Regions from separate parts of the Homo sapiens genome. Here all the other regions are linked to region 4. The links are contacts of gene promoters, found by promoter capture Hi-C in blood cells and fetal thymus (Javierre and others, 2016). All regions are on one chromosome and are shown on one strand. The core of a region is centred on a gene start or on the middle of the fragment in contact, and the rest is flanking DNA. Distances in the headings are between cores, read along the strand shown.

Region 1 (5,861 bases), core at 1,154-3,653, 220 kb before region 4:
GCTTTTATTTTTTATTTTATTTTTTTTGAGACAGAGTCTCACTTTGTTGCCCAAGCTGGAGTGCAGTGACGTGATCTCAGCTCGCTGCAACCTCTACCTCCCGGATTCAAGCGATTCTCCTGTCTCAGCCTCCCAAAGTAGCCAAGACTACAAGTGCCTGCCACCACGCCCGGCTAATTTTTGTGCTTTTAGTAGAGATGGGGTTTCACCATGTTGGCCAGGCTGGTCTCAAACTCCTGAACTCCTGACCTCAGGTGATCCACCTGCCTCAGCTCCCCAAAGTGCTGGGATTACAGGCGTGAGCCACCGTGCCCAATCAAAACATAGCTTTCTTCAAAGAAGCTTGGGTTGAGTCAAACTCCCCACTGCCCTAAACTAGAGTTCTCCTGCCATCTAGCGCCCAATGGCAGAAAATCGTTAAATTCTAATGACGGCCCCATTCCTTTGTTCCTCCCCCACCCCCACCTTGCACCCCCATGCCTGACATGGCTTTCTCTTCAGCCCCATATGCCAAGCAAACACCCACTCATTTCAATTCAATTCAAAGCCTCAATTCAAGCCTTATCTCCTCTAAGAAAACTTTCCTGAGGAACCCGGATGGCTCACTCCCTCCTTGCCAGCCTGGACCACCTCCTCCAGCACACCTCTTCCAACACTGCCCCTTCCCCTTCTCCACGGAGTGTGTTTCCCTTCTCCACTGACACTCCCCTCTGGACCCGCACCCCTAGCTAATGTATTCGATAAATGAATGCACACGACAGTACTGTTATGGGTGGGACAGTGAGGCATTCCAAAAAAAAAACTGCTCCAGGAATTCAGAAACAGTTTCATGTTGCTGGCATGTAAGTGCTTCATTGATGACTGCTTCATTGATGATCTGTAGCCCCTGCTTTGTCTCTGAAGTTCATTTTTTATGAGAAATAAATGCATAAACATACATCTACCCTGTGATCCAACAATCCCATTTCTAGATATTTACCCAAAAGAAAAGAAAATCTGTGTCTACAAAAGACTTGGTCCAGGACTGGGTGGTGGTGCATACCCGTAATCCCTTTGATAGGCAGAGGCAGGAGGATAGCTTGAGGCCTGGAGTTTGAGACCAGCCTGGACAACATAGCAAGATCCCATCTCCAAAAGAAAAAAAAAATGGTCAAGGATGTTCATAGTCACCACTTTATTCATAATAGCTACTAAGTGGAAAAGACCCAAACACCCATCAGCAGGGGAATGGATCAACAAATGTGGGCCGGGACCGATGCCTCATGCCTGCAATCTCAGCACTTTGGGAGGCCGAGGTGTGTGGATCCCTTGAGCTCAGGAGTTGGAGACCAGCTTGGCTAACATGGTGAAACCCCGTGTCTACAAAAAAAAAAAAAAAATTAGCCAGACGTGGTGGCACATGCCTGTAATCCCAGCTACTCGGGAGGCTGAGGCATGAGAATCACTTGAACCAGGGAGGTGGAGGCTGCATGAGCCGAGACCACATCACTGCACTCCAGCCTGGGTGACAGAGTAAGACCCTGTCTCAAAAAACAACAACGACAAATGTGGTATGTCCATTCAATAGAATACTACTCAGCAGCAAAAAAGAACCAACAACACAGCTCAATCTCGAAAGCATTAGGCTAAGTATTTTTCAGCAATATGCTAAAAAAGCCAGACAGAAAAGGAGTACTTATTGGATAATAACATACATATGACATTCTAGAAAGAGAAAATGTAATCTACAGTGACAGAAGCAGACCAGTTAGGGCAGGGGTGGGGAGATGGGGTAGAAAGGACGGAGATTGGGACAAGACAGAGTTTGGGTTTTTATTGTTGTTTAGAGACAGAGTCTCACTCTGTCGTCCAGGCTGGAGTGCAATGGCGTGATTTCGGCTCACTGCAACCTCTCCCTCCCGGGTTCAAGCAATTCTCCTGCCTCAGCCTCCCAAATAGCTGGGACTACAGGCATGTGCCACCACACCCGGCTAATTTTTGTATTTTTAGTAGGGACGGGGTTTCGCCAGGTTGGCCAGGCTGGTCTCAAATTCCTGAGCTCAGGTCATCCACCTGCCCACGGCCTCCCAAAGTGCTGGGATTACAGGCGTAAGCCACTGCGCCCGGCGGACAGGGTTTGTTAAAACTCATCAAGCAGCACGCCTAAGATCTGGGCATTTATCTGTATGTAAATTACATTAAATAATTTTAAAGAATGTAAAGGGAGGGACATGGGAGGGAGGAGGAAAGGCAGGCAGCAGCCGCAGGGCAGGTGTCCCAGTGACCGGTTCCCAAGCGGGAGGAGGGCGGTGGGCTCGCGGACACCAGCATGCAGTGGCTCCGTTCGGCCGCCAGGGGGGGGCGTGGGCCCTGGAAGGGCAGGCGGCGAAGGGCGGCGAAGGGCGGTGAGGGGGCGGGCCCGTACGCCGATTCCATATGGGCGCCGGCGCGGAGCGCCGCGGGGCAGCGCGGGGTCGCCATGGCTGAGCTGCAGCAGCTCCGGGTGCAGGAGGCGGTGGAGTCCATGGTGAAGAGTCTGGAAAGAGAGAACATCCGGAAGATGCAGGTAGCGGGGCTGGGGCCGAACCAGGACCCCCTTCTCAGCGGGTGGGTTCCGGGCCCTTCCCTCAGCCACCACGCGACGCCTTGCACTGCAGCCGCGTCCCCGCAGACCGGGTGTGGGCGGCCCTGGGGTCGCCGGGGCGGCCTCGGACAGGACTTCGGAAGCTTTGGCGGATCGGATGAAATCCGTGTGCCCTTGCCGTGCGCGAGGCTGTTTTCCGCCCCTTCCAGCCCGGGGCAGGAGCGTCCTCGGCGGCAGGTGGGAAGCCCCTGGTGGCAGGCGCTCGCCCCACCACCTTCCCCTCTTACGCGGCCCCTTCCGCAGGTGAGCGGCCCGAGGCCCAGCAGAGGCGCTGCCAACGTGAAAGACCAGAAAGGCGAGGACTTCCGGCCTCCCCGTTGGCCAGGTCATGCCTGCTTCTCTTGCGCCCAACCTCGCTTCACACAGCGCGGGTTTCTACACTGTTCTTCTCTGAGCCCCGCAATGCCTCTGTGTGTTTCGGTCCTGCTTCTCTCACGGAGTATGCGTTTCCCAGATAGTGCCCCTTGAGTCATTGATTAGTGGGTCGGCTGCCCTCTGGTGGAATTTGTATTGCTAGGTTGCTGACCTCTGAACCCCATGGAAGAGGCTCCTGGTTTTCAGAATTTGGCTTCGTCAGACCACCCTACCCTCACCCACTCGGGCGAACCTCTGTTCACCCAACCATCGGTGCAACAGGTGCCGATGAGCTAGCAGCAAGGACACCATGAAACACTACACTAGACATTGAGGATAATTTTCCCCAGTGGTGGTTTTAAGGTCCTGGTGTCTATTCTCAGGGAAGGTGAAAGCAGAAGGTGGAGAGAGAGGTGCAAATATCCACGTGGCCTTCTAACTCCTGTAGTGCTCCATAGTCATCTCTGTCCCCAGAGACTTTCCTACCTAACCTCTCTGCCCTTTCTCCCCAGGGTCTCATGTTCCGGTGCAGCGCCAGCTGTTGTGAGGACAGCCAGGCCTCCATGAAGCAGGTGCACCAGTGCATCGAGCGCTGCCATGTGCCTCTGGCTCAAGCCCAGGCTTTGGTCACCAGTGAGCTGGAGAAGTTCCAGGTGAGAAATATCCTAGACAGAGCACTGTAGTCCTTGATACAGACTTTTGCAGGAGATGACAAGCATTTGTTCAAAACTCTTGGCTTTAGTGTCTTGGTTCTGTTAACAGTTGTGATACTGATGGCCAACCAGTTTTCACAGGGTTTGAAATTTTGGAAAAAGTCTTGGCGGTCGAGTGCCTTAAGTTGAACATCATTTCCTATAGAAATGATGTAGGCCGAGCGCGGAGGCTCATGCCTGTAATCCCAGCACTTTAGGAGGCTGAGGCAGGTGGATCATGAGAGCAGGAGATCAAGACCATCCTGGCCAACATGGTGAAACCCCGTCTCTACTAAAATACAAAAAATTAGCCAGGCGTGGTGGCACGCACCTGTAGTCCCAGATACTAGGGAGGCTGAGGCAGGGGAATCTCTTGAACCCAGGAGGTGTAGTTGCAGTGAGCCAAGATCGCGCCACTGCACTTCAGCCTGGCAACAGAGCGAGACTCTGTCTCAAAAAAAAAGAAATGATGTAATGGGGAGTTACCAGGGGAGTTCATGACCAAGAGCCCTTATGCAGTTTGTTGGGGAGGAGGCGTTTGTTTGTTCCTTTTGACATAACCACCAAATACAGAATGTATACTGTGTAGTATAAAGTTTCCTGGCTGGACGCGTAGCTCGCGCCTGTAATCCCAACATTTTGGGAGGCCGAGGCGGGTGGATCACGAGGTCAGGAGTTTGAGACCGTCCTGGCCAACATGGTGAAACCCCATCTCTACTAAAAATACAGAAATTATCTGGGCATGGTGGCAGGTGCCTGTAATCCCAGCTACTCGGGAGGCTGAGGCAGGAGAATCGCTTGAAACTGGAAGGCGCAGGTTGCAGTGAGCCAAGATCGCATGCCATTGCGCTCCAGCCTGGACAACAAGAGCGAAACTCCGTCTCAAAAAAAAATAAATAATGTTCAGGCACGGTGGCTCACACCTGTAATCCCAGCACTTTGGGAGGCCGAGGCAGGCAGATCACGAGGTCAGGAGATCCAGACCATCCTGGCTAACACAGTGAAACCCCGTCTCTACTAAAAATACAAAAAATTGGCCAGGTGTGGTGGTGGGCGCCTGTAGTCCCAGCTACTCGGGAAGCTGAGGCAGGAGAATGGCGTGAATCCGGGAGGCAGAGCTTGCAGTGAGCCAAGATCACGTCACTGCACTCCAGCCTGGGTGACAGAGCGAGACTCCGTCTCAAAAAATAAATAAAATAAAAATAAAAAAATAAAGTTTCCTAAAACATATATTATTTTTAAAACAGCAGAATCTCTAGAAAGGTAGGATAGCCTTGAAAAGGTACAGATTCGAGGAACACCCTTCCACCATTTTGTGGACTTATACACCCACCCAGGACTGCCCCTAGTTGCTATACCCAGAGGGCAGCCCCTCTGTCACTAAGGAGCAGTCATTTATGTGAATCATTATTACTGTTGACTCACTGATTCCTGGCTCACAAGCCCCTCTGAGGTTACCAAAAGAGCTCCCTGTTTCCCTCTCTGGAGCAAAGAGTATCCACAACTTCATTTTACTCCCATCTTCTAAGTATATTTTTCTGGAACCTGGGGGAAGCAAGCCTACTTCCAAGCCAGCCTTTCATAGCCTGAGGTTCCATCCACATGGAAACTTATACATAATGTGACACATCTTTACATTCTTCCATTCAAAACGCTTCAAAGTTACTGCCATTATGAAGGAATAACTTCTTCAAGATCATGGAACCCCAAAGGGTTTCTTTGTGTTCTTTTTGACAGCTAATTTTATAGATGGGGTCTTTGAAAATGTGATTCTTGGATTGCTCTATAACTTCCCTTGCATTATCTTTTTAGTCCTCTCCAAGTGGACTTTCACTCTTCACTGGGCCAGAACCACTCCTGCCACTCACCCCCATGGGGCCGAATCCGGGGGTCATTTCTCAGTCTTCATCTTACTCTGTCTGCATCATTGACACAGTGGATCCCTCTCCTTCTTAAAGCACTTTATTCAGTTGGTCACCAGGACATCTCACTCTCCTGGTTTTCTGCCTCCTTCCTTGGCCTCCTTTGCTCTCTCTTCCCCACTCCAGCCTCTGAGCATCAGAGTGCCTGGGGCTGTCCTTGTTTCTTTTCTCCTTTCTGCCTACTTCTCTAGTCTCCTCTAGCCTCATAGCTGTAAATATAATCTCTATGCTGACAGCTCCTGCATTTATATCTGTAGGCCAGAGCTCACT
Region 2 (5,677 bases), core at 1,075-3,574, 150 kb after region 4:
ACAGTATGGTATAAAAACCTAAATAATAATATGTGTGTGTGTGTGTGTGTGTGTATATATAGATACTTTTCAAAAATAAGTTCTCTCTTGAAAGGATGGGGAAGAGGCAAGAAGAAATAAGCCCACAAAATCTATTCTCAAGCTCCAAGATATTGCTAGATGGTTATTTTGAGCATCACAATCCTACCTAGTTTACACTTTTTTCTTATCCCCCAGGATTTGCTCTTGGCCGCTTTGGGGATGCAGAAGAGAGGCCCATAGGAAACTCAGGTTGAGGCCCCTTTGTTGCTTTTGAAAAAGTAGAGGTTAAAGGAAAATGCCCACCTTAAAAAATAAAAACAAAACAAAACACTCAAGTGGCCAACTGCAGGACGAGGGCCTACTTAATGTTCAGTTCTGAATCAACACTGAAATTATTTTCATCTTAGGTTGACAGGGAAAATCTAGGTCCTGCCTAAAAATGTGATGCATTTTGAATCACTAAACTAGCATTAGGTGTGTGACTACAGAAAGGAGCCAGCAGTTGCTATCAGCACCTTGAAGAATTCAAGATCTCTGCTTAGCAAAAGAAAACCAAAATACAGACGACCTGGGTGCTCGGCCCACCATTCAAAGCCAACAGGGGATGGAAAGCTATGTTTTCAGGATGTTACAGAAGCACACATATATATTTTCCCACTGCATGAAATTAAATTAGACTGCGTACTCTTATTTTTCCCACTTGCGTTATGATGGTATCAATAAGAGTGCAGTTTAGATTTTTTTAGTTTTTTAAAATCAACTTTCACATAAAAATATGCATGTGCCTATATTTATACACATCTGTATTTACGTACAATTGTCAAAGTCTTAAAGGCTGGGGTTTATATCTCTGCCCATCCCCTCCCAACCCCAAAATCCCTAATAGAAAGGTTTTCATCTTGCTTAAAAAGACAAAACAACTAAAAAGACTATAGCTCTTAGCAGTCAGGCTGGTGGATCAGTGAATGAGAGAGGACAAATTGGCGAATCAGGGCTGCCGATCAGCCGCACGGGGCGCGGAGGATGGGGTTGGGGGGATTAGCTGCCTTGGGCTGAGTTTGCTGGTCCTGAAGATTACAGTTTTGGTTAGAGAGAGAAGCCTGTCTAGCATGCTGACTCGGTCTACCTCAAGCTTTGAAAGTAATGTCTAACCCTGCTGCCAGTTTATCACAAGTGCATTAAAAATATAGAGATCTATCAAGTTCCACATTTATATGCAATCAAACTGAAAAGGACCAGACAAACAGTGCAAAGGTCAAATAATTACTGTTTTATATTGGGACAGTACATTTCAGATTTCAACCAAAAGACAAAAATGCAGTTTAACTCAAAGGCACAACAATTGAAACACAGAAAATAATGGCATCTCTTGGATGCCTTATTTCTAAATTAAACAAAGAAGTACACAAATTTTGTTCCCTTCCCTCCCCCAGTGCAAGCCCACAAGCTTTTTCCAAAGTCTTGAGCTTTTGATGCTGTCCCGCATTGTGGACTTGTGAGGCGCTTGGATGTAGCAATGAAACAAAATGCTTGAGAGGTCTAGTGAATGGCATTCAAAAGGGACCTCAAAGTGCAGACATATCTTTTTCAAATATGTTACAGGCTGAACTGGCTCTTTGAACACTATCACTCTGCTTAAATCCAGGAAGCAGGCTTTAAAAATGCAAAAGGCATACAAGTTGTATTTCAGTGCAAATCTTTAGCTGGTTATTGGAAAAGATTCCAAAAATTAAAAAAAAAAAAAAAAAATCCTTTGTGTCACCTGCCCCTCCCCCCACCCAAAGCCAAAATGAAGAAAAGACAGAACAAAACAAAAACAGAAGAATTACAGGTGACTTTGGAATCATTTAGGAATCCACTACTTCCAATCAGAATGTTTAGAAAAATACATTAAAGAATCATTTTTTAAAAAACACAAAAGTAATCTTGCTTTCTGAGACTGCTCTTCGGGTATAGAATGAGCTTCCGTGTGGAGTGCGTTTGAACTTTGACCTTAGCTGTGTGCGAGGTGCAGGCGCTGGGGGAGCTTCAGGCTGTGGTGTGCGAGTGACCGCAGGGGAGCGTGGGGTGGCTGCCCGCTGCCGAGTCAGCCGTTGAGCCCTTAGGTCGCAGTGCGTCCGTGGATTTTAGTAATGTTCTCATCACTTTGTGACACACTCTGCTTCAGCATCACAGATTTTACAAATGGTTCAAATTCAATGAAAAAGATTCGCCAGAGGCTGAAAACATCAAGACCTCAAAAATATGAATGCAAAAATATTCAGGGGAATGAACTAATTTTGTAGATACCTACATACAAAGTTTCTAGAACATCTATAAAACCACAAAGTCATAAGAATTTGTTTTCCATTACATTAGTTTATATAAAATGAATAAATAGTATTTATAGATTTAATGTGTCTTATGTACATATACATGTGCTCTGTTTTAGCTTAAATAAAAATGCTACAAAGTCGGAGACCACTTAAGGGAGAAATCATAACCAAAAAGAAAAATCAGCCTTTTAAACTATCAACCCAAAAGCCTCCATAAAGAAGTTTCTGGGTGTGTCCAAAAATAATCAATAAGGAGAGGAGTTCTAGTAACAGTGTACCATCCTCTCCTGTTCACCTGCAACAGAGAGTAGAAATGTGGACTTTTTCTTTCACTGATAATGGCTACTAGCTCTGCTAGTGCCACAGCTCAGTTATTGCTGAAAGTTCAATAGGAAAATAGATTATAATTGGACCAAATGTCACTATTTTGGGGGGGGAAAAAAGGATAATCACTGTGTTAAGTGGGAAATGGAGATCTCATTTATCTCTGAGGTAGGAAAAAAAAATGTTCCAGAGACAAGTAGCATTAACAAAGTTGGAGGGGAGAATGTGCCTCGAGATAGCAGAACACAGCGAGGTCCCAAGAACATCGCACAAAAATAGATTGTACCGTTTTGTTTGTGAGAACAAACAATTTGGAACTTTGATGAGCTGTGCAACCCCAGAGACACACTATCAAGGTGTCCATTTTAAAGTGAGAAATACTGCTCCCATCCACACGCGGCGCGTCGGGGGAATGAGCATGCGCGGTGTGAAGGGCGTGTTTTCTAGAGGTATTCCTGACTTCCTCACTGGTGGTGAGGTCCATGGTTAAGTGCTCTTAAATGCTGCTTTCAAAGCTTACTTTGGAGTTCTGAGATCAGGATCTCAATTTCAAAAGTTTGTTTCCTTCAGTTTCCTAAGTACAAGACACACTTGGACATTCCTCCTAGGCAAGTAACACAGTAAGCCAGAAAACTGGAAGAAAGGTCTGGGAGAGGACACGAGGAGAGCAAAGAGGGGGATTGCTGAGATGTGGACATTGCTTATTCGGTCTAAGAATTCTTGGATGCTTCAAATTGATTGGAATGTATAGTCTCTCAGAGACAAATTTTTATGGCGAGAAAAAGAGAAGCTAGTGGATGCAATCAGAAACCCACAATCCTAAGCACCTCCTTGAAAACAGTTACAAAGCTGATTTTGGTCAAGGTGGGACACTGAAGTTTACGTGCAAGGGAGTTGTGGGCAGGTCCAATACGTTACCTAATCAGAACCAACAGGGAGAACCTTCAAGGAGACAGCCGCAGTGCCCACTCTCTTAGAGACCAAGACACGCCTTGTGACTGTCCTGCAGCTTTATTCTCTTGATGCTGGTGCTGGAATAGCCCTCATCACTGCCGAGGCTCTGCATGCTGCCCCGCTCGTCAGAGTCGCTCACACTGCTGCTGCTCCAGTCCAGATCACCTGTGAGATAGTCCGTGCTCTCCACGTCAACGTCGATTTCTTCTGCAGGGAGGACAAGAGAGAAGGACATTGATGAAAGCGCTCTGCAGAAAGCTCAGGCGTGGTGGCTCATGCTTGTAATCCCAGCACTTTGGGAGGCAAAGGCGGGTGGATCACTTGAGGTTAGGAGTTTGAGACCAGCTGGGCCAACACAGTGAAACCCTGTTTCTACTAATACAAAAATTTGGCTGGGTGTGGTGGCTCACGCCTGTAATCCCAGCACTTTGGGAGGCCAAGGTGGGTGAATTACTTGAGGTCAGGAGTTCGAGACCAGCCTGGCCAATATGGTGAAACCTCATCTCTACAAAAATAGGAAAATTTGCCAGGCATTGTGGTGTGTGCCTGTAATCCCAGCTGCTTGGGAGGCTTAGGCAGGGGAATCGCTTGAACCCGGGAGGCGGAGGTTGCAGTGAGCCAAGATCACACCACTGCACTCCAGCCTGGGTGACAGAGCAAGATTCCGTCTCAAAACAAAACAAAACAAACTAGGCTGAAAACTGACACCAATCAAACTCTTCTGGGGTTGTCACCTAAGTGTTAGCAGGGAGAAGGAACCTGTCACTGGAGGTCACACTGTTCGACTTCTCTACATCATACCCAGTGTCTTAGTTCTTCTTACACTCTGCCTCCTGTCCGCAGTACTGAACCCCTGCTCTGGGGTTGGGGAGCACAAGGGAGACAGGGAGGAGAGTGAGAGAGGCTCACCCCTGTCGGAGTCGGAGCGCTCCGAGGAGACGGTGGAGCCGATGCTGTCCATCCGGATCCTCTCAATGCCCAGCTTCTCCAGCTGCCTCTTCAGGTGTCGCTGCTCTCGCTGAAGCTGGTCGATTTGGTGAACGGCTTTTCTGTCACAATCTTCAAGTTTCTGCAAGTCAAAGGGGTAGTTGTTGGGCCCCACAGGGAGATCTCTAAATGGGCAATGGCCCCCGCATCTTCCCTTCTAGCAGTGGAATGCGCCACACTTCCTCAGACGCCTTTCGGTGCCACTCATCAAGCTTCTCCCTGAGACAGGAAGTCGACTGGCCAGTGACTCCTGGCTTCGTCTGACTCTTCAGCATCGCCAGTGCTGGGGGTACTTGTCCTGTCACAGGGATTCTGGGGGTGAGCTCTCACATACTGGCACCCTGGTAGCCCTCAGTTTTAGTATCAGAAAGACTGCAGGCAGCAGTCCCCAACCTGATCTCCCTTGTTTGCAGCAATCCCCTGAACACCTGATCTCCGGACTAGAAAACTGCACTTGATGGGAGCTTAAGAAACACGCTTCCATTTAAAACTATGTTTATTCAAGTACATGTCCCAATTACATAAGCACTTTTTTGTGTCATGCCAAATCTCAATTAACTTCTGTTTGTTAGCAGGAAATAATAGTCCCTTTTGATGTCCTGATTCTAATTTGTCCAACAGAAGAGTTTAGAAAACACATTTCCATAGAATACTCATTTTTATAAATCTGCCCCCAGCTTCTCATATTCTTCAGATAATTAAGAAGATTGTTTAATTGTAGCTGTTTTGCTTTAAATAGAGGTTTTCTCCCAGAATTGTCATGAATGCAGGCTTCTAACCATAATTAAAGTAACATTTGTCCAACTATAATATGATTATACAAACATGCTAAACAGGGATTTTGGCTGTGGCTCTCAAGACTTTGAATCCAATTCCCCTTACCCTTTGCTATTCAGGTAGCAAAGAGAGTGTCAACTCTGTGCCCGATACCCTAGGAGGTGCTGGGGCTGTGAGGTGAGCACAAAGACCCAGTCCCCTCCCTCGTGGGGTGTATAGTCTAAGGATTGAGACAACACAATGGTCACACAAACCACTGTCAAATGTCAGTTATGACAGGGCTAAGAGATACCCAGTGA
Region 3 (5,747 bases), core at 48-2,547, 250 kb after region 4:
TTCAGTGACTACCCTGTTACTCAAATAGAAAAAATACTTACTTGACATAAATATATTTTGTGTAAGCTCCATTCTTCTCCTAGAGCACAAATCTTAATGTCACTGTTTTCACCATTCAAAAATAATGTTTGATAAATATATTTAGATGTACTCTTTAATTTTTTCCTGTTAAAAGAAATGAAAAAGTCACATATTTATATAAAACTGAATGTTTTACTGATTTTGCATATATTTCTAAATACTCCTTTTATTCAATTTCTATTAAATAGAGTCAACTTACCTATTGTGTAAAAGGATAGGGAGATAGTATATATTCAAATTTTCTTGTGTCTAGAAGAGTACATAAGAAACTAATAATAGTGGTTATCTCTGGGGTCCTCTATGCACGGGAGAGATAGTGGAGAAAGGGGGGCAGCATGGGAGGCAGACTTTTCACTACACATGTTTTAGCAATTTTGGACTAATTTAATTACCCATTCAATAGATTAAGAAGTTAGCATGTTGATTTTTTGCTTATTTCCTTATTTAGAAACCAGCACTATGAAGGAGCTCAAATAGCGCAATAATCTGCAAGTAGGAAATGGAGAACAAGAGTAAACATTTCACCTACCCAAGTAATTTTAAAATAATTTACATTTAATCTTATTTTGGTACCAACCTATTCTTAAACTACTTAAAATGTTTTCCAGCCACTGGACAAACGGTTTGCAACCTTAGATCAAAGGTTTTCTTTTCTTTTCCTATTTGTTTTTTAAAATTATTTATTTATTTATTTTAGATGAAAGGTTTTTAAAACTGCTCAAAGGAGAAGTCTTAGGGGCCACCAAGGAGAGCTAAGGAGTGAACTGTGAGCATCCCATCTAACTTCAACCAGAGCAGCATCACCTATTCTATCTGTAAACATACTGGATTTCTGCACAGATTTAATTTAAAGGAAGACTTGACTAAAAAAATAAAGTTTGAAAATCATTGCTCAAAATGATCCAGTAACTAAGAAAAGGCCTTAGGCAGAGGCTGATCAATATCTTAAATTCCTGACCAATTCTGAAAGCTTTCCTAGCACATAAAACCTTCAATCTCTTTTTAAAAATGAAGTAATTGTTTCAGATGACATCCTGAATTGGCGAATTTAACACCTGTGTACTTAACACCTCTTCCTAGCCGACAATAAAAACAGCACATGTCTTAGTGGTAACAGACTTGGGTTTGAGTCCCAGCTGCTCAGTTATCACAGCTGTAAAAAGAGGACATTAATAGTATCCACTTCACTCGTTATGATGCGAAATCAAGAGACAATGTAGTTTCCAGTTCCTGACGGCAGAATGTACACATGTTGGCTTCCCATCCCTCCCCAAATTACATTAAAGATTAAGAGTACAAAAAAGGAATAAGTCCACACCAGGAAAAGGTGAGGGTAGGCTCATCACTTGATGAGAGATTTATACAGATCTGAAAGTTAGAAAACAAATTCAAATGAAAAAGAACAGTGACAGCCACAGCCAAAAAATACATTATGGAGGACTAGGATGGAGGCTAAGCTTATCTGCCCATCAGAACCCTTGGGAGAAAAGAAGGATGAGGTCTCAGGGAAACAAAGGCAGAAGTAAGAAGAGGGGCAGAAAATGGGGAAACTAGTGCCTTCTCCACTCTATGAACACAGAGTATAGATAAGGAGAGTACAGATACTGAGGCAAAAAGATTCCAAGGTTTTTCTAGAAATAGCACAAAGCTAATGGAAGATCTAAGGCTGTAGTGTAGCTGCTGGTGCCCAGACAAAGCAATCCTCATTCTGAAATTTAAAGAATCTGTGGCCTGTTCACTCCCAATCCATTCACCCTAAGTCATGGTTCCCAAACCGTGTGTGAAATTCACCAGTTCAGGATACCATCTGAACTTAGAGCACCACAGCCAACTCAGAGAGGCATGTGGAGTATTTTAAATTCGAAGGAAACACAGTAACATCTTTCAGATACCATGCAATCTGCTATCATTAGGTTGTTTGGCCCTAACTATGAGGTATTTCTTTTGGACCAGGGGTGAAAATTACTAAAATATGAAATGTGCTGTGATCCATGAAAGCTTGGGAACCTCTGCTCTACAAAGCATGCCCCACCTATAACCAACTTCGTAGTCTTCTTACTCAAAGAAGAGGTACATTGGAAATAGATCTATTTCCTCAATTAAAACACCATACACCAGTTACTCCTTCTTAAATATAAGTGGACAAGCAAGGAAGGATCACCCACCATGAGGAAGAATAAGAGCATATCAGAGAGACAGAGAGACTCCCTCCACCCCTGGAAACATATAATTCAGGGAAAAGAGAGGAAAAAAACACCCTCTCACCAGTATACCTAGAGATCTGAGATTATTATATTTACCCCATAGACTGCTATGATAAAGGATCACTCAGAACAAGAAAGAGCTTTTAGAGACTAAAGACATGATTACTGAAATTTAAAAAAACAAATAAACCAAAGAATAGTTTGTTTGTTTTTCTTCCTCATGTTGGGTGATCCTTCCTTGCTTGTCCACTTATATTTAAGAATGAATAACTGATGTATGGTGTTTTAATTGAGTAAATAGATCTATTTCCAAGGTACCTCTTCTTTGAGTAAGAAGACTACGAAGTTGGTTATAGGTGGGGCATGCTTTGTAGAGCAGAGGTTCCCAAGCTTTCATGGATCACAGCACATTTCATATTTTAGTAATTTTCACCCCTGGTCCAAAAGAAATACCTCATAGTTAGGGCCAAACAACCTAATGATAGTGATGAAAAAGTTAAAGGAAATTTCCCAGAACATAAAGCAAAAAGACAAAGAAAGGAAAAAAGAAGAGACAGGCATAATCCAAGAAATCCAAAATCCAGTTAAGAGGCATCCCAGAAAGAAAAAATAAAGATAAGAAGCGAAAGGAAATTATGGAAGAAATTAATGGAAAAAAATTTCCCAAAACTAAGGTAGTATATGAGTCTCCAGATTATAAGGATCCAACAAGTACCAAGGCCATTAAAAGACCCACACTTAAGCACATTCTAATTAAATCCCAAAATACCAAAGAAAAAGTTCCACAAGTTCCAGAGAGCAAAAATGGTCACCTGAAAAGAGAATTACACCAGAATCAAATTTTTCATCAAGACTGTAGGCCTGAAGACAATGAAGCAGCGTCATCAAAGATATGAAGAAAGTTACTTTAGATTTCCATACCCAGTCAGAGGATGAATAAAGTAAAAGAGACTAAATTTATATTTAGATACGCACAAATTACCCCCTTTTGCACCCTTCCTTGGAAAATACTTGAGGATGTATTAAATAGTTCCTAAAATAAGCGAGAAAGAAATGCAGGCTACACAAAATAGTGGATTCAATCCTAGAGATGGGGTGAAAGTAAGTCCCAGCATAAGAGTAGACAAATCCAGATTGGAACAGGAGGATGGAAGAGGTCTAGGTTTTAGAGAAGGATTCCATGAAAGTGTGTTTCAAAAGACTTTTCTGTGTTTTTTCAGAAAAACCCGAAGCCATGATGAAGGAATATTGTTATTTTGACAAGAGTGGGGGAAAGGCCATTATAAACTCTAGGACAATAAAAAAGCAATACAAAAAAAGGCACTGTCCAAATAAGATAAAAACAAAAGCAGGGCCTGACTTTAAGCACTTGATGGAATACAAGAAAAGATTCCATATGACTGTGAGGTTAGAAAAATTTCTCCCTTTGAACAGACAAGCAGTTGTGACACTGGACCCATCAAGTATGATTTATAATCCTAGCATACTACTTAACTCTTCTGAAACAATATTTACTTAGTTATAACTATGTAATGTCGTTTCAATTTTTTAGAGACAAGCTACGGACAAAACACTCAAGATCTGGTTGTAGAACAGTGTGGGTTTTAACAGTCTCGTAAATGTAAAAGTAGAACATGCAGTTGACAAAGGTATGAGGTGGAAGTTGGGCCTAAAAGCTAAAACTTCTCATAAAGTGGTCTGTTGATGTGGGAGAGCACACCAGACAACCTCAGGAAGTATATACTAGGGCCAACACACAAAATTCAACATCTTAATACTTTCTCTTTTAAATTTTTATTTGTTTAGTTTTTGAGACAGGGTCTTACTCTGTTGCTCAGGCTGGAGCGCAGTGGCGCAATCTTGGCTCACTACAACCTCCGCCTCCTGAGTTCAGGTAATTCTCCTGCCTCAGCCTCCCAAGTAGCTAGGAATACAGGCGTGCACCACCAAGCCTGGCTAATTTTTGTATTTTTTGGTAGAGGCGGGGTTTCACTGTGTTGGTCAGGCTGGTCTCAAACTCCTGGCCTAAAGTGATCTGCTTGCCTTGGCTTCCCAAAGTGCTGGGATTACAGGCGTGAGCCACCACGCCTGGCCCGTCTTAGTATTTTCTTACACCCTGCATCCGTATTGGGCTGAATAATCCAAGCATCTTCCAGTAATATACAGACACTAAATTCTGATATGCATTTTCCGATAAAGGTTTGCCTTAAAAACTTTCCATTCCAGTCCACTCATGTAGTCTAGGAGTTGGTACACTTTTTCTGTAAAGGTCTAGATAGTAAATATCTTTAGCCTTCTGGGCCAAAAGGCCTCCAAATAATTTTGTTGGCATCCTAGTAGGCAGTGTCCTACTTGCCAGCCTCAGCTTACCACACTTGAGCAAACTTTTCCACCATCCAGTGGGCTACAGCCACACCTCCTTCAACATCATCTGAATCTTAGCTTGGGAAAGGGGTGGGGGCACCTATTCCAAATTTGTTCCTTCTGTGGCTATTCTGCCTCAGCCTTAGAAGTACTGACTACTACATGTATTTTCTAGGGATCTCTTTACCTTAGCGTTTTGTCCTCAGTAGTTAATTCTCTGTGCCTTGTTAATAATGTTTATATTAAATTTCCTGTATTCAAATTGCTGTGTGATTTCTCTCCTTCAAATGCACTGTGACATATATTTCAATAATTACGTTAAATATAAGTGGTCTAACTACTAATTGAAAGGTTAGATTGTCCTGTTGGACAAAAGAAGCAAGACTCAACTATATGCTGTTTACTTGATATCTGTTTTAAATATACACAGGTAAAAAGTGAAAGGAGGGAAAATAAGATATCATTCAGACATTTATCAAAAGAAAGTGGCTGATGGATACACTACAATCCCAGACTTCACCACTACTTGTTATATACATGTGAGAAACCTGCAGCTGTACCCCCTAAATATAAATAAATAAATGTATATATGTATGTATGTATGTGGTAGTGGCTAAATTACTAGGGATAAAGAAGGATGAACATTTTGTTATGATAAAGGGGCCAATTCATCAAGGAGACATATTTACTGCATGCTTACATTCTAGACATTGTGCATTTGTTTGTTCTCATATTTGTCAAAGCCTAAAAGGCAGGTATTTATATCTCCAATTTACATATGAGGGAAATAAGGCTATTAAGTGCAGAATACAGACAAGAAGTCAGAATTTTTTTTTTTTTTTTGAGACAGAGTCTCACTTTGTCACCCAGACTGGAGTGCAGTTGTGCGATCTTGGCTCACTGCAACCTCGCCTCCCAGGTTCAAGCCATTCTTCTGCCTCAGCGTCCCGAGTAGCTGGGATTACAGGCAGCTGCCACCACGACTGGTTAGTTTTTATATTTTTAGTAGAGACAGGGTTTCGCCATGTTGGCCAGGCTGGTTTTGAACTCCTGACCTCAGGTGATCTGTCTGCTTCAGCCTCCCAAAGTGCTGGGATT
Region 4 (5,221 bases), core at 2,013-4,512:
TTTGGCACCTACTGGTCTATTGTCTGATACTATTGTTTCTTCTTTCCCTCATCTCAGGCTCTATTTTCTCATACTATTGTTTCTAATGTTGCCTTTGCCTAGCAGTTTTCCTTCTCTCATCAGGTCAGGGATAGTCCTATTGGCTGACGTGGGCGTGAGGGTGCTACGGCCTTCACAGCGGGATCTTCCTCCTCCACTGAAGACAATCAGTGGCATTCAAATCTAAGACTCCTTTGGGGTGTTTGTTAAAAATACAGCTGATTAGTTTTGGGGTGGGACAGAGGAATCTGCATCTTTAACACTCAGATCATTCTTAGGTTATAGTCAGTGCATCAGTCTACATTCCCGCCTTGTGAAGACTGACCCATTTAGGCAGGATTATTTCCTGGTATAGGGATTCTCTAAACATTGCACACAGCTGAAGAATTGGAAACTGGGCCTCTTTTGTTTCTGGATACACCACTTGGCAGGTGTAATAACATCCTCTGACAGGCTGCTTGCCACAGGTGCATGCTTGACACGTGCGTCTCGTTGGTACCGTCCCCTCCCCCCTTCCCACCCCTGCTGCCCAACCAAGACCCCTCTAGTCCCACCACCACCCGGCAGCTGTTGCCCTCCTCCAAGCCCCCAATCCTCCCCGGCCCACTGCCCTCCCTTCCTTTCCTTTCCCTGCCCCCACACCCCTTCCCCAGGCTCCTCCCACCCCAGAATATTTTTTTGTTCCTAAGTTTATCCTGTGAGGTGGGGGTGGGGGAACTGGTTAGATGGAGAGGACGCTCTGCCATTTAGAGGTCCTACTGAGTGGGCACACCTTTTCCCCTCGAGAAAACCTTGTTTCTACCAGAGAAATGGGCAGAGGCCTCTCTCTGGAACTTGAACCTCTCTGTCCCTGGAAACATCCCAAAGCAGGCCCAGCCTGCCATGTTCCTTTGTTGGGGCACAGAGGGAATGGAATCTTACCGATAAGGTGAGAAGAGCTTGAGAGAATACCAAGGACGGGCCCACCCTTCTCCCTCCTCCCTCCAAACACCTCAGGCTAAAAGGGGAGGGAAAAAAAAGGCACCAACAAAGAGTTTAAGACAGCAATTCCCAGCTTTTTCAAATATGAAGCATTTTTTAACCAATCCGTTTTTTAATTCTTAAATTCTTGACATTACAGAACTAAACTGAAATTTATTAACATTCCACTCTTACATTTCTTATCGACAAACAGAAATAAAATTCATGAGCCAAAAAACCCAAAACAAAACTAAAAACAGGGAAAAGCTTATAAAACTAAATATGGATCCCAGCATTAACAGCTGAACAGAGAATGTGATTTTTAAATTCTTAGCGGATGATAAAGTTGTGTAGAAACTGAACACTTACAAATTATTTAAAACCTGGAATCACTGACCAGAAATTACACAGTTGGATCATGGGAGAACAGCAGAAAGGGGTTATTGAGGGAACCTACACTGTTCTAGCTGCACCCCATGCCCTTCTCAGAGGAAAGCCTGGCATTGATTAGATACTGGGCCAGACTAATACTGGCAGCAGAGCCAGTGATAGTAACCTGCCTACCAGAGGAGCCTTCCACTGGGTTGGCAATTTTGATCTGGGCCCCGGACATCTGGCGGATCTCATTAATGTTGGCGCCTTGGCGCCCGATTATGCAGCCAATTAAGTTATTTGGAATGGTGAGTTCATGGGTGGTTTGAGTAGATGCATCCAAACTTGCCCAATAGCCTTTCACCTCTGGAGAGCTGGAGTCAATTCCGGCGAATCCGGTCCCGCCGTGCATCATGGCAAAGTGAGACTGTTGTCTTGCCACCTGGTTCAGCTTGGCCAGATCGAGCGGAGAAATGGTGTGTTGTCCTTGAATCGAGTAGGCATCTAGAGGTGGTCCCTCCAGGTCATGGGTGGCATGGGGGTAGCCCGCAGCGTCGCTGCACCGATCTTGGCCGCCCGCGCAGATGACTGGGGAGCTGGCCGGCATGGGCTGGTACGGAATGGTCATGACTCTCCCTTGCGGAGACTGGGAGAGCGTCTCCAGCATGACCAGGCAAATCTGCTTGACACACTCGGTGACAGACTGCGGCACGCCAGCGATGGTGATGGCCCGCTCGGTGGAGTTGGGCAGCATATCCCCCGCCACCTGGACCTGCGCCCCCGTACTCTCGCGGATCTCTTTGATCTTACACCCGCCTTTCCCAATCAGGGAGCCGCACTGGGTGGCCGGCACCACCAGCCTCAGGGTGACCGGGGGCCTGCTGGCCGCGGTACTGTTGGTCATGGAGCTGTTGATATCTTCCTCCAGCTTGTCGATGATCATAGCGAAAGCCTTAAAGATGGCATTGGTGGGGCCGGTCAGAGTGATGATTCTCTCCGGACAATTCCCCTCCGAGATGTTGATCCGCGCGCCACTCTCCTCGCGGATCCTCTTAACCGACTCCCCTTTCTTCCCAATGATGCTTCCTACTTCCTTTCCGTGCATAAGAAGCCGAATGGTGAGAGTCACATTTAGTCCACTTTCAGTCACACCGGCATCCATGGCGAGCGGCGGGCGGCGTTCGGGGGAGTTGGGCTCGTTACGTGGTCAAGTCTTTGGCGGCTGGCGGGGGGAGGGGAGGTGTAGGCCCAAAACTGCCGGCGCGAGGCGAGCGAGGGCCGCGGGAGCGAGCGGGAGCGGGCGGGAGGCCGCAGCGTAGTCGCAGGGGCGGGCGGCGGCGGCGGAGGGGGCGAGCGGGGCCGGGAGCGGCGGGCGGGCGGGTGGGCGAGGGCGCGGCGGTGGCGACTCCGGCGGCAGCCTCGGCGGTCTGGGCGGGGCGGGAAGCCCGCTTTCAACCCCGCGTACCCTCTGACCCCGGAAGTGCTTGCTGCGCAGGACCCCTTGAAAAAAAATGAGGACCCGTCTTTTTTAGGTCACAAGATTGCGCCAACCCTTACATGGTCCTTAAAAAAAAAACCTTCTGACACTGCAGTAGTGAAAATGAAGCGCACGATGGGCGGAAGCTGTGAGTCCGGCAAAGTTTTAAAATGATGACGTATTTTATTAACTCTAACGGCACTGGCGGGTGACTGAAAATACTAGTGCTGTGTATGCGGGATAGACATTATTTTCCTGCCCTACATGAGGGGCTCGTGCGCGGAACGACATGGGCAGCCCCGGCGGAAACTGCAGGCACAAGCCGGGACGCCGCGGGTTTAAAACATGCGCGTGAGGTGACCAGAGCGCGTGCGCGAGGGTGTGGGGGGATGGGAGGGGCAGCAGCCCTCTTCCGGGGGGGAGGGGCGGCGAGGCGAGGCCTGCGGAGCGGGTGCGCGCGGGCGGGCACGTGGGGCCCTTTCGTCCCCGGCGTCCGGGCGCCCTGCATGGATCCCCCACCCCAGCTCCTGCTCCCCGGCGGCGGCCGGTGGGCAGAAAGACCGAAACCCACTCACGGCCGCCTGCCGAATCGCGGCTCTGCTGTTTGTGGGGCGTGCTAGAAACGTGGTCCTAAAAAGAATGGCGTCCATTTACATAATGCTTTGTTTGCGTTTCGCAAGTTTCTTTCGGTTAAAGCCACAGAAACCCCACCTCCTGCCCTTGTGTCGTTTCCACCGCGGCACCCTTTTCCGACATTAGAAACAATAGTGTACGCCTGTGGAGGCCTCGTTTGTTCAGGGGCTGCCGGCCAGGGCTTCAGGACGTTTCTGCGGCTTTCCCCGCGCGGCCTGGGCTCCCGCGGCTGCTTTTCGGGCCCATGGGCGCAGCCACTGCGCCAGGCTCAAGGGGGGCGGCCCCGTCAGGGCCCGCCATCTTGGAAGGCCTTTTTTGCCGGTTCTTCCCGCTGAGGAAGTGTCGCTCAAGACGCTGGCCTATGAGTTGTGATTTCTGCCTTTTCCCCTTCCTCCTTGGGCTAAGCCAGACCAGAAAGGGCCCCGTGCGCAACGTGCTTCACAATCTCTCAGGGAAAGCGGCTAACGTGGCGCTACTCCGCCTCCCCTGTTCCTTACCCTTGGGGCGGCCGCCATGTTTCCTGAACACAAAATGGCGACACGTGGTTAGCATTCGTCGCCAACGAGAAATTGGGGTCGGCCCGAAAGCTCTAGAATGCACCCCTCTTCCTCCCCGGGGCCTTCCACCTCCGCGAGTTTTATGACTTAAAAAAGCCCACAGGCTGGTCTGAAGGTCGGAGGCCTAATTTTAACGCGTTTTCCTCCCTTTAATTTGAAACGGGAACGCGAATGACTGTAAAATGTGGGCACAATATTTAATCTCTCGCCTTTTTAAAGCTTAATAGTGGATAATAGGGGGGCAGTATCAAGGGATAATTTGGGTCCCCACAGTACCAAAGCATTTAGAAACCTCTGTTTAATTTAAGGAATGAGATAAGTTACTGCTTTTCTAGACTTCCTAGCATGGGCTGTTGTGCTGGAGAGAACGAGAGCTACGAAGAGACTACAGTGCCTCTGACTTTTTCATAGGACAGTTGGCCGGTGAATCTTATTAATAGTTTACCACAATTAAGTGTTCATTTTTAGTCTAGAAGGGACAGGCGTTTATTGTGCATTGGCCAGTGCCAGCACATCCGATGCAAGGCAGTTCACCGTATTCTATCTTTAATTTTTACCATGGTCCTCTGAGGTAGGTGTTCTTATCTCTCTCTCTCTCTCTCTCTTTTAAACAGAGGAAGACAAACATAAAGATGAAGTGCTTAATTCAAGGTCACACAATGTCGGGGATGGACCTCCAGATTTCCTTACTGGTGAGCACATTTTCCAGGTTTTTCTGTAAATCAGGGTTTTGGAATTTAAATACTATTTAAAACGTTTAGGTGAGCTTGTCATTTAAATGAGCCCTTCAGGTAATCTTTTGTTGTGCAGTCAGCCCCTTTTTGTATCAGGCAGCTCCCAGCTTTTCCTGATAAGAGCTACACCTGTAACGGGCGGGCGGGCTGAAATGCTGTCTTATGCAGTGTCTGGTGAGGATAGGGAGGGGGAAGTGATTCAGCCTGCCCAGAGGCTCAGGTGTCTGTCGGTCTGGCCCTGTCTGTGGCACATTTGAGCCTACCTGCCTCTGGGGGAGCAAATGGTTTTTTGTATGACTGACTTGCTTCCGTCAGCTCCCCATGGGCTTGACTCTTGCCTCCCCCACCCCAGCACCCCAACCAGGTAAAAATAAATTCGCTCTGGCACCAAGCCTCCATTTCTCTGCAGAGATTGACAGAGCATGACAGAGTGTTAGGTCAGTCTGTGG
Region 5 (5,802 bases), core at 580-3,079, 170 kb after region 4:
ATACTTTTGAGTTTCTAGTTCATGATATGTAAATAGCTAAAGCATAAAGGAAGCTCCAACTTAAAACATGGTCAGTCACAATCATAGAACAATTAAAAGGGAAGACGATGGGATGAGCAGAAGCATATATGCAGTGAGGCACACTCAGCATCACACACACACACACACACACGAAATTCCATAGTGGAGTAAAGCTAACCGCCCTCTTCCCAGATTCTACCTGCCTGGGAAGGGTTTAGTCTGCCCTTTCACTGATTAAACATAAATATCATTCAGATCCTGACTTTCAGAGTCAGGCTCCTTTTTCAAAGAGGGTTGGCAGGAAATAACCACATGTCTTTATAGAGCCATCATTACACATCCTTTTCTTGTTCATGCAGGGCACTGAGAAAGCACTCAATTTGGATGGGTAGCCCGCATTTCAAATTGATGGGAGCTCAGAGACCAGAATGAGGCTAGTTCAATGGTTCTCCGCCATGGCTGCACATGAGAATCACCTGGGGAGCTTTTGAAACATACGAGTGCAGAGCCTCAACCCAAACCAATTAAATCAGAATTGCTAAGGGTAAGGTCTGGGCATTATTTTGTTTGTTTGTTTGTTGGCTTTTAAAAGCTCCACAAAAAGTTATCATTAATTTTTTTCAGTATGGTAAAAGCAAGTGGTTTTTTTTTTGTTGTTGTTTTGGGTGTTTTGTGTGTTTTTTTTTTTTTTTGGTGTTTACTAGAGATACAAGAAAATTTGCTTTAAAATACTTCATGGGAATAGGTGGTTTTGCTTACAGAAGACTGGCAAAATGTTGATAATTACTGAAGCTGGGTAATGGATACATAGGAGTTGATTACATTAGTCACTCTACTTTTTTTTTTTTTTTTTGAGACGGAGTCTCACTCTGTTGCCCAAGCCGGAGTGCAGTGGCGGGATCTCGGCTCACCGCAACCTCCGCCTCTAGGGTTCAAGCGATTCTCCTGCCTCAGCCTCCCAAGTAGCTGGGATTACAGGCACGTGCCACCACACCTGGCTAATTTTTGTATTATTAGTTGAAACAGGGTTTTGCCATGTTGGCCAGGCTGGTCTCGAACTCCTGACCTCAGGTGATCCACCCACTTTGGCCTCCCAAAGTGCTGGGATTACAGGTATGAGCCACTGTACCTGGCCAGATTTGAAATTTTCTATAATAAAAAGTTATTTTATAGAATCAGCAGAAATAAACCTTTGTTCTCTACCCTCACCAGAAAAATATACAAGTGTATGTGTATAATGTATTTAATATAAAAATATGTTTAAAAATACACAGAAAGCTTTGCAAGTGATTCTAATGTGCAACCAGAGTTGAAAACCACTCGGCTGCCTCACTGAAGGAGGGGCAACTTGATTTGGAAAATAAAGATTTAAGTAAGCAGCAAGAGGCAATCCAGGTGAGAGAGATTCCACTCAGGCTGCGGCAAGATGGAGCCCAGTGAGGGTGGCAGTCCTCCTCTAGTTAGGCACCATCTCCAATTTCTGCCATGCATACATTTGCCTGAATTTTGAGACTCTTCATTCACAAGTAAACTGCAAATACACATACATACACGTTAATACACATGTGTTAATATATACTTACATGTATATTATGTGTATATATATCTGTGTATATGTATTTTAGATAACACTGCCAATGATATTCAGTAGCATGTAATTTTTTTAAAAACACTATTTGTGGAAATGTTGCCTCTGACTAAAATGCTTTGGTCTGTGGAATAGTCATTCAAAGGCCTTCTTCAGGAGTGGGCTGGTGCGGGTGAGGGTTAGGGGTGTGGTCTTTTAACTGGCAAGCTCTACATCTACCTAAGTAATTTATGAGCGATGCTGCTTAGAGGGCGCTGGGTGAATTCTGAAATCAGGTGCTACTAGTGGGAAGAGTCAAAAAGAGCAACCAAGTTTGAACTGCATGAACAGAGAATGCAACAAAGCTCCCCGCATTCCACCTCCCAAATCCCCAACTCACCTATTCTTCTCCATTTCATTGTGAGTTGATCTGAAAGAGGGAACAATAAGAGAAGAATAAGATATTTTTGTCTTAAAGAACTACTTCAACACCAACACAATTCTTTTAACTTCTTTCTCTCCAAAGTTGATAGGAGAGATGTAGAAAGGCAGAAAAATTCACTGGGCTCTACTAAAAAAATTAGTCCATTTGAAGAGTTAGATAAATGTAAATCCTAAAATAGAGTTCAAGGTAAAGCGACAAACCAAGAAGCATGCCTTCTCTAGTGGAAAAATAATCCATTTTAAGACAAGAAATAAAAGGGGTCTATTTATACAAAAACAGCTGCACGATGCAATGTGAATTTGCGTTATATAATACGACAAAGCTTTCTGTAGGCTAAGGGTAGAACAGGGGAGGTAGCACCCCTACCCCACCCCTGCAGTTTTCCCTAGGGGTAGCATACACCAAAATTTTGTGTAAAGTTGCTTGACTATATTGTTTTAAATAGTAAAATAACCCCCTTCCCCAAACTTCTGACTCCCTGAAGTAACTATCATGTACAAGATGCTACTGTTAAATAGCAACCAAATGATTTTAGGAAGGGGTTTCCAAAGTTCAGCTCAATATAAAGATGATAGGTTGCTTAAAGCAGAAGTTAGTGAAATGTGAAGTCCAGCTTTGCCACTGATATACTGTGGAATGAATAAAATTCTTTACCATCCTGTTACTGGTTAACCTGTCTATAAAATGAGAATAAAAATAATTACGAATTATTTACTGAACAAGTATGGACCAATGAGGTAACAGCTGTAAAACTGATTAGAGAGCCTTGGATGAAAGGTGTGATGGATATGAAACCATATGATTAGTGTATTTATGGCTGACCTTAAAGACAAGGTCTGGCCTAAGACTTTATGGACAAGTTACCATAAAGTCATAAGAAGTCAATGTGGCCCCTTTAGTGTCCTCCTCACACAACCCCTTCCTAACCAGTTATAAATTTGGAAGAAGCTACCAGTATTATAAAGGAGCTGAATCTTGCTTGACCTTTCTATGAAAATTCTCTAGAATTTAACCAGCTCAGGAGTTTACTCCCTGGTTCAGCTCATGAATTCTGTGGGGCCATAATCAGCACCTTACTGGGCTTAGGAAATAAATTCTCACAGCAATCATGGAGGAATACCACCTCAAGAGTGCTCAGCCACTCATTTACATCAGGGGCACCAACATCAAGTTCACTCATCAGAGAATGGGGGTAAGGAGAGTGAATGTGGGGGGATGGCAGCGGAAGTGAGGAGGTTGTCTTGAAATGAGAAATTTCCAACCTAGCATTAAACTTCTCTTTCACAGGGATCTTAGGAATCAATTTTTATTCACGAAGAAAAAATAAATGAGAAAATGACAGTATTTTAAGTTTAGAATATTTGTTTTCTAGGTAAACAATATATGGACCTCATGTATTCAAACCAATCCAAAATTGGTTAACTTAAAAGTTTCAGGCTAGGCGCAGTGGTTCACATCTGTAAGCCCAACACTTTGGGAGGCCGAGGCAGGCGGATCATGAGGTCAGGAAATTGAGACCATCCTGGCCAACATGGTGAAACCCTGTCTCTACTAAAATACAAAAATTAGCCGGGCGTGGTGGCGCGTGCCTGTAATCCCAGCTACTCCCTTGAACGAGGGAGTTGGAGGTTGCAGTGAGCTGAGATCGTGCCACTGCACTCCAGCCTAGCGACAGAGGGAGACTCCATCTCAAAAACAAAACAAAACAAAACAAAACAAAACAAAACAAAACAAAACTTTAAAATGGTCAGGCATGGTGGCTCAGACCTGTAATCTCAGCACTTTGGGAGGCTGAGGCAGGAGAATTGCTTGAGCTCAGGAGTTGGAGACCAGTGTGGGCAACACAGCAAGAGCCCATCTCAATTAAAAAGAAATAAAAGCTTTACACTGATTCACTTGGTTATCCCTCAGCATTCTCCAGTCACATTGTTCTGAAGGTTTATTGCCTTCAATGGCCAACAGGATACTATAGTTAACAAGAATCTGGCATATACTGCAAACCTTTGGCTCTAAAGCACGTGGCATTTTAACTTTAACCGGGACTAGTAAGTTCAAAGCCTGACAGATTTTTTTAAATGGATGAAAGTAGATGGGCATAGTGGGATCCCAGCACTTTGGGAGGCTGAGGTGGGTGGATCACTTGAGGTCAGGAGTTCGAGACCAGCCTGGCTAACCTGGCGAAACCCCGTCTTTACTAAAAATACAAAAATTAGCCAGGCATGGTCACATACGCCTGTAATCCCAGCTACTCGGGAGGCTGAGGCAGGAGAATCACTTGAACCCAGGAGGTAGAGGTTGTAGTAAGTCGAGATGGTGCCACTGCATTCTAGCTTAGGCAACAGAGCGAGACTGTCTAAAAATAAATAAATAAATAAAATAAAATGGATGAAAGTATATGCCAACAGTTGGTTGAGATTACCCTCTTTAACTGTAGACAAGGACCACCCCTTGTAGGTGGAGGAGAGGAAAGTGAATAGGTTGAGAAGAGAGTAGAAAATAACAGCACACAGGAAATTCTTACCAAAATATTTCTGGATTCTTTGAAAATATATAAACTAATAAATAGAGTTATATACTTATGCAAAATTCTGAATCCCCAAAATAAACTTTTAAACAAACTCCATAGGAAGCACAACTTCTTCCAAAATTTGAACAAAATTTTTAAAACTACAGATTTTATTTGATTACTCGAGTGTTAAACACATGGTGCTTTTTAAAGGGGGACTTGTACTTAATGGCTAGAGCATTACTGAAGTGCATCTAGTTTACTGAAACTGAGTTATTAATAAAAAGCAGCCCTTTCAAAAATGATCAGTTCCGAGACTGCCAGCCACCTCCATTGATGGGTAAACATTTACGTTTTTAATTAAAGCACTGTAAGAACACACTGATACCTTGTGTCAAAACTATTTTCCATGTGATTATGGAAAACAATGGATAACTCTGGAATCACTGATAAAGGTCAAATTTCACCATTTAAAAATACACTCTAATAAAAAAAAACTAAGCCAAATTACGGCGTATCTGAGATAACCAGGAAAAATTCTTGGGTTCAAAAACACTCCTCATGTCAGGTCACTCTAGCCACTGTCTTATAAAACAACTGGGTGGCAAGTCCTGAACTTCCTCTTTCACGTGAGTGCCAAAGCTTGCTTTACTCATTGAACAAAACACACTTTTAAGAAGTTCTAGATTTCAATTCTAAATAATTAGTAATTGACTTCAAAAATCAGTAGGAAAGAAACTTCCATCTTCCCATATTCCAGCAGTTCTATGGATAATTTCAAAAACAATTGATATTCACAATTTCATTTTCATTTTTGTTGTTTTAATAAGCAACTAGAGAAACGTGAATAAGATCTGCATTTTCAGTTCCCAAGAAGTTTCCTATGTGGCAAAATCTTATCTTTTATTGTCCAAGGAAAAGTACTTCCCTAGACTCTACAAGCAAAAAGCACAGCATTTCAACCTGTAAGAACAAGAATAAACTGTTATCCAAGGGTTATGTAAACCAGCAGTAATCTCTCCCTATCCTTTACCTCAGTTCAAAATTCTGACCATACATGGCTGAGGATATAAAGCCGATTCAAACCATGGGGTCAAGCTGCTTTCTCCATTATGATTGCTTGTTCCTCAGAAAAGGAGCTATTCCAAATGAGTCATGAAGGAAATGATCACACTGAAAGAAAACTGCCTGCTCTTGCCTCACACGTTTGGCTGGTGCTACCTCTAGGTTTAATCATGGTCTCTCAGAAATCCTTACACCACT

What was found. The method cuts DNA at HindIII sites, captures the fragments that hold promoters and counts their contacts. A CHiCAGO score of 5 or more calls a contact.
Region 1: the fragment with the promoter of FAM136A here is called in contact with the fragment with the promoter of PCBP1-AS1 in region 4 in 1 of 17 cell types (fetal thymus); the score reaches 6.8 in fetal thymus.
Region 2: a contact is called between a fragment that was not itself captured here and the fragment with the promoter of PCBP1-AS1 in region 4, in 3 of 17 cell types (neutrophils, monocytes and fetal thymus). The highest score is 9.0, in neutrophils.
Region 3: a contact is called between a fragment that was not itself captured here and the fragment with the promoter of PCBP1-AS1 in region 4, in 1 of 17 cell types (fetal thymus). The highest score is 5.1, in fetal thymus.
Region 5: a contact is called between a fragment that was not itself captured here and the fragment with the promoter of PCBP1-AS1 in region 4, in 17 of 17 cell types (monocytes, fetal thymus, total CD8 T cells and 14 more). The highest score is 17.8, in monocytes.

Annotation. Positions count from the first base shown.
Region 1 is chr2:70,298,609-70,304,469 of GRCh38, reverse strand. It overlaps FAM136A (family with sequence similarity 136 member A), which reads left to right and starts at 2,403. Exons shown (of 3, transcript NM_001329752.2): 1 at 2,403-2,866; 2 at 3,490-3,630. The coding sequence starts at 2,459. RefSeq lists silencers at 281-410, 2,214-2,483 and enhancers at 2,169-3,117, 3,118-4,067. The HindIII fragment of the contact is 2,364 bases long and covers 345-2,708 here.
Region 2 is chr2:69,936,241-69,941,917 of GRCh38, reverse strand. MXD1 (MAX dimerization protein 1) reads right to left here. Exons shown (of 6, transcript NM_002357.4): 5 at 4,524-4,683; 6 at 1-3,821. The coding sequence ends at 3,634. It also overlaps a transcript of ASPRV1 not described here. Among named protein-coding and RNA genes, the nearest start is that of ASPRV1, 23 kb to the left of the region's middle. RefSeq lists an enhancer at 4,074-4,609. The HindIII fragment of the contact is 1,707 bases long and covers 1,471-3,177 here.
Region 3 is chr2:69,831,965-69,837,711 of GRCh38, reverse strand. GMCL1 (germ cell-less 1, spermatogenesis associated) reads right to left here. Exons shown (of 14, transcript NM_178439.5): 2 at 42-165. Among named protein-coding and RNA genes, the nearest start is that of GMCL1, 5.2 kb to the right of the region's middle. The HindIII fragment of the contact is 487 bases long and covers 1,054-1,540 here.
Region 4 is chr2:70,085,056-70,090,276 of GRCh38, reverse strand. PCBP1-AS1 (PCBP1 antisense RNA 1) reads left to right here and starts at 3,262. Exons shown (of 11, transcript NR_033872.1): 1 at 3,262-3,299; 2 at 4,653-4,730. It overlaps PCBP1 (poly(rC) binding protein 1), which reads right to left and starts at 2,800. Exons shown (of 1, transcript NM_006196.4): 1 at 1,074-2,800. The coding sequence starts at 2,533. The coding sequence ends at 1,463. It also overlaps a transcript of ASPRV1 not described here. RefSeq lists silencers at 458-547, 638-687, 2,714-2,773, 3,224-3,373 and enhancers at 1,496-1,662, 1,734-2,378, 3,584-3,793, 3,834-3,923, 4,064-4,203. The HindIII fragment of the contact is 2,991 bases long and covers 1,269-4,259 here.
Region 5 is chr2:69,917,952-69,923,753 of GRCh38, reverse strand. It overlaps MXD1 (MAX dimerization protein 1), which reads right to left. Exons shown (of 6, transcript NM_002357.4): 3 at 1,989-2,018. Among named protein-coding and RNA genes, the nearest start is that of MXD1, 5.7 kb to the right of the region's middle. The HindIII fragment of the contact is 1,056 bases long and covers 1,302-2,357 here.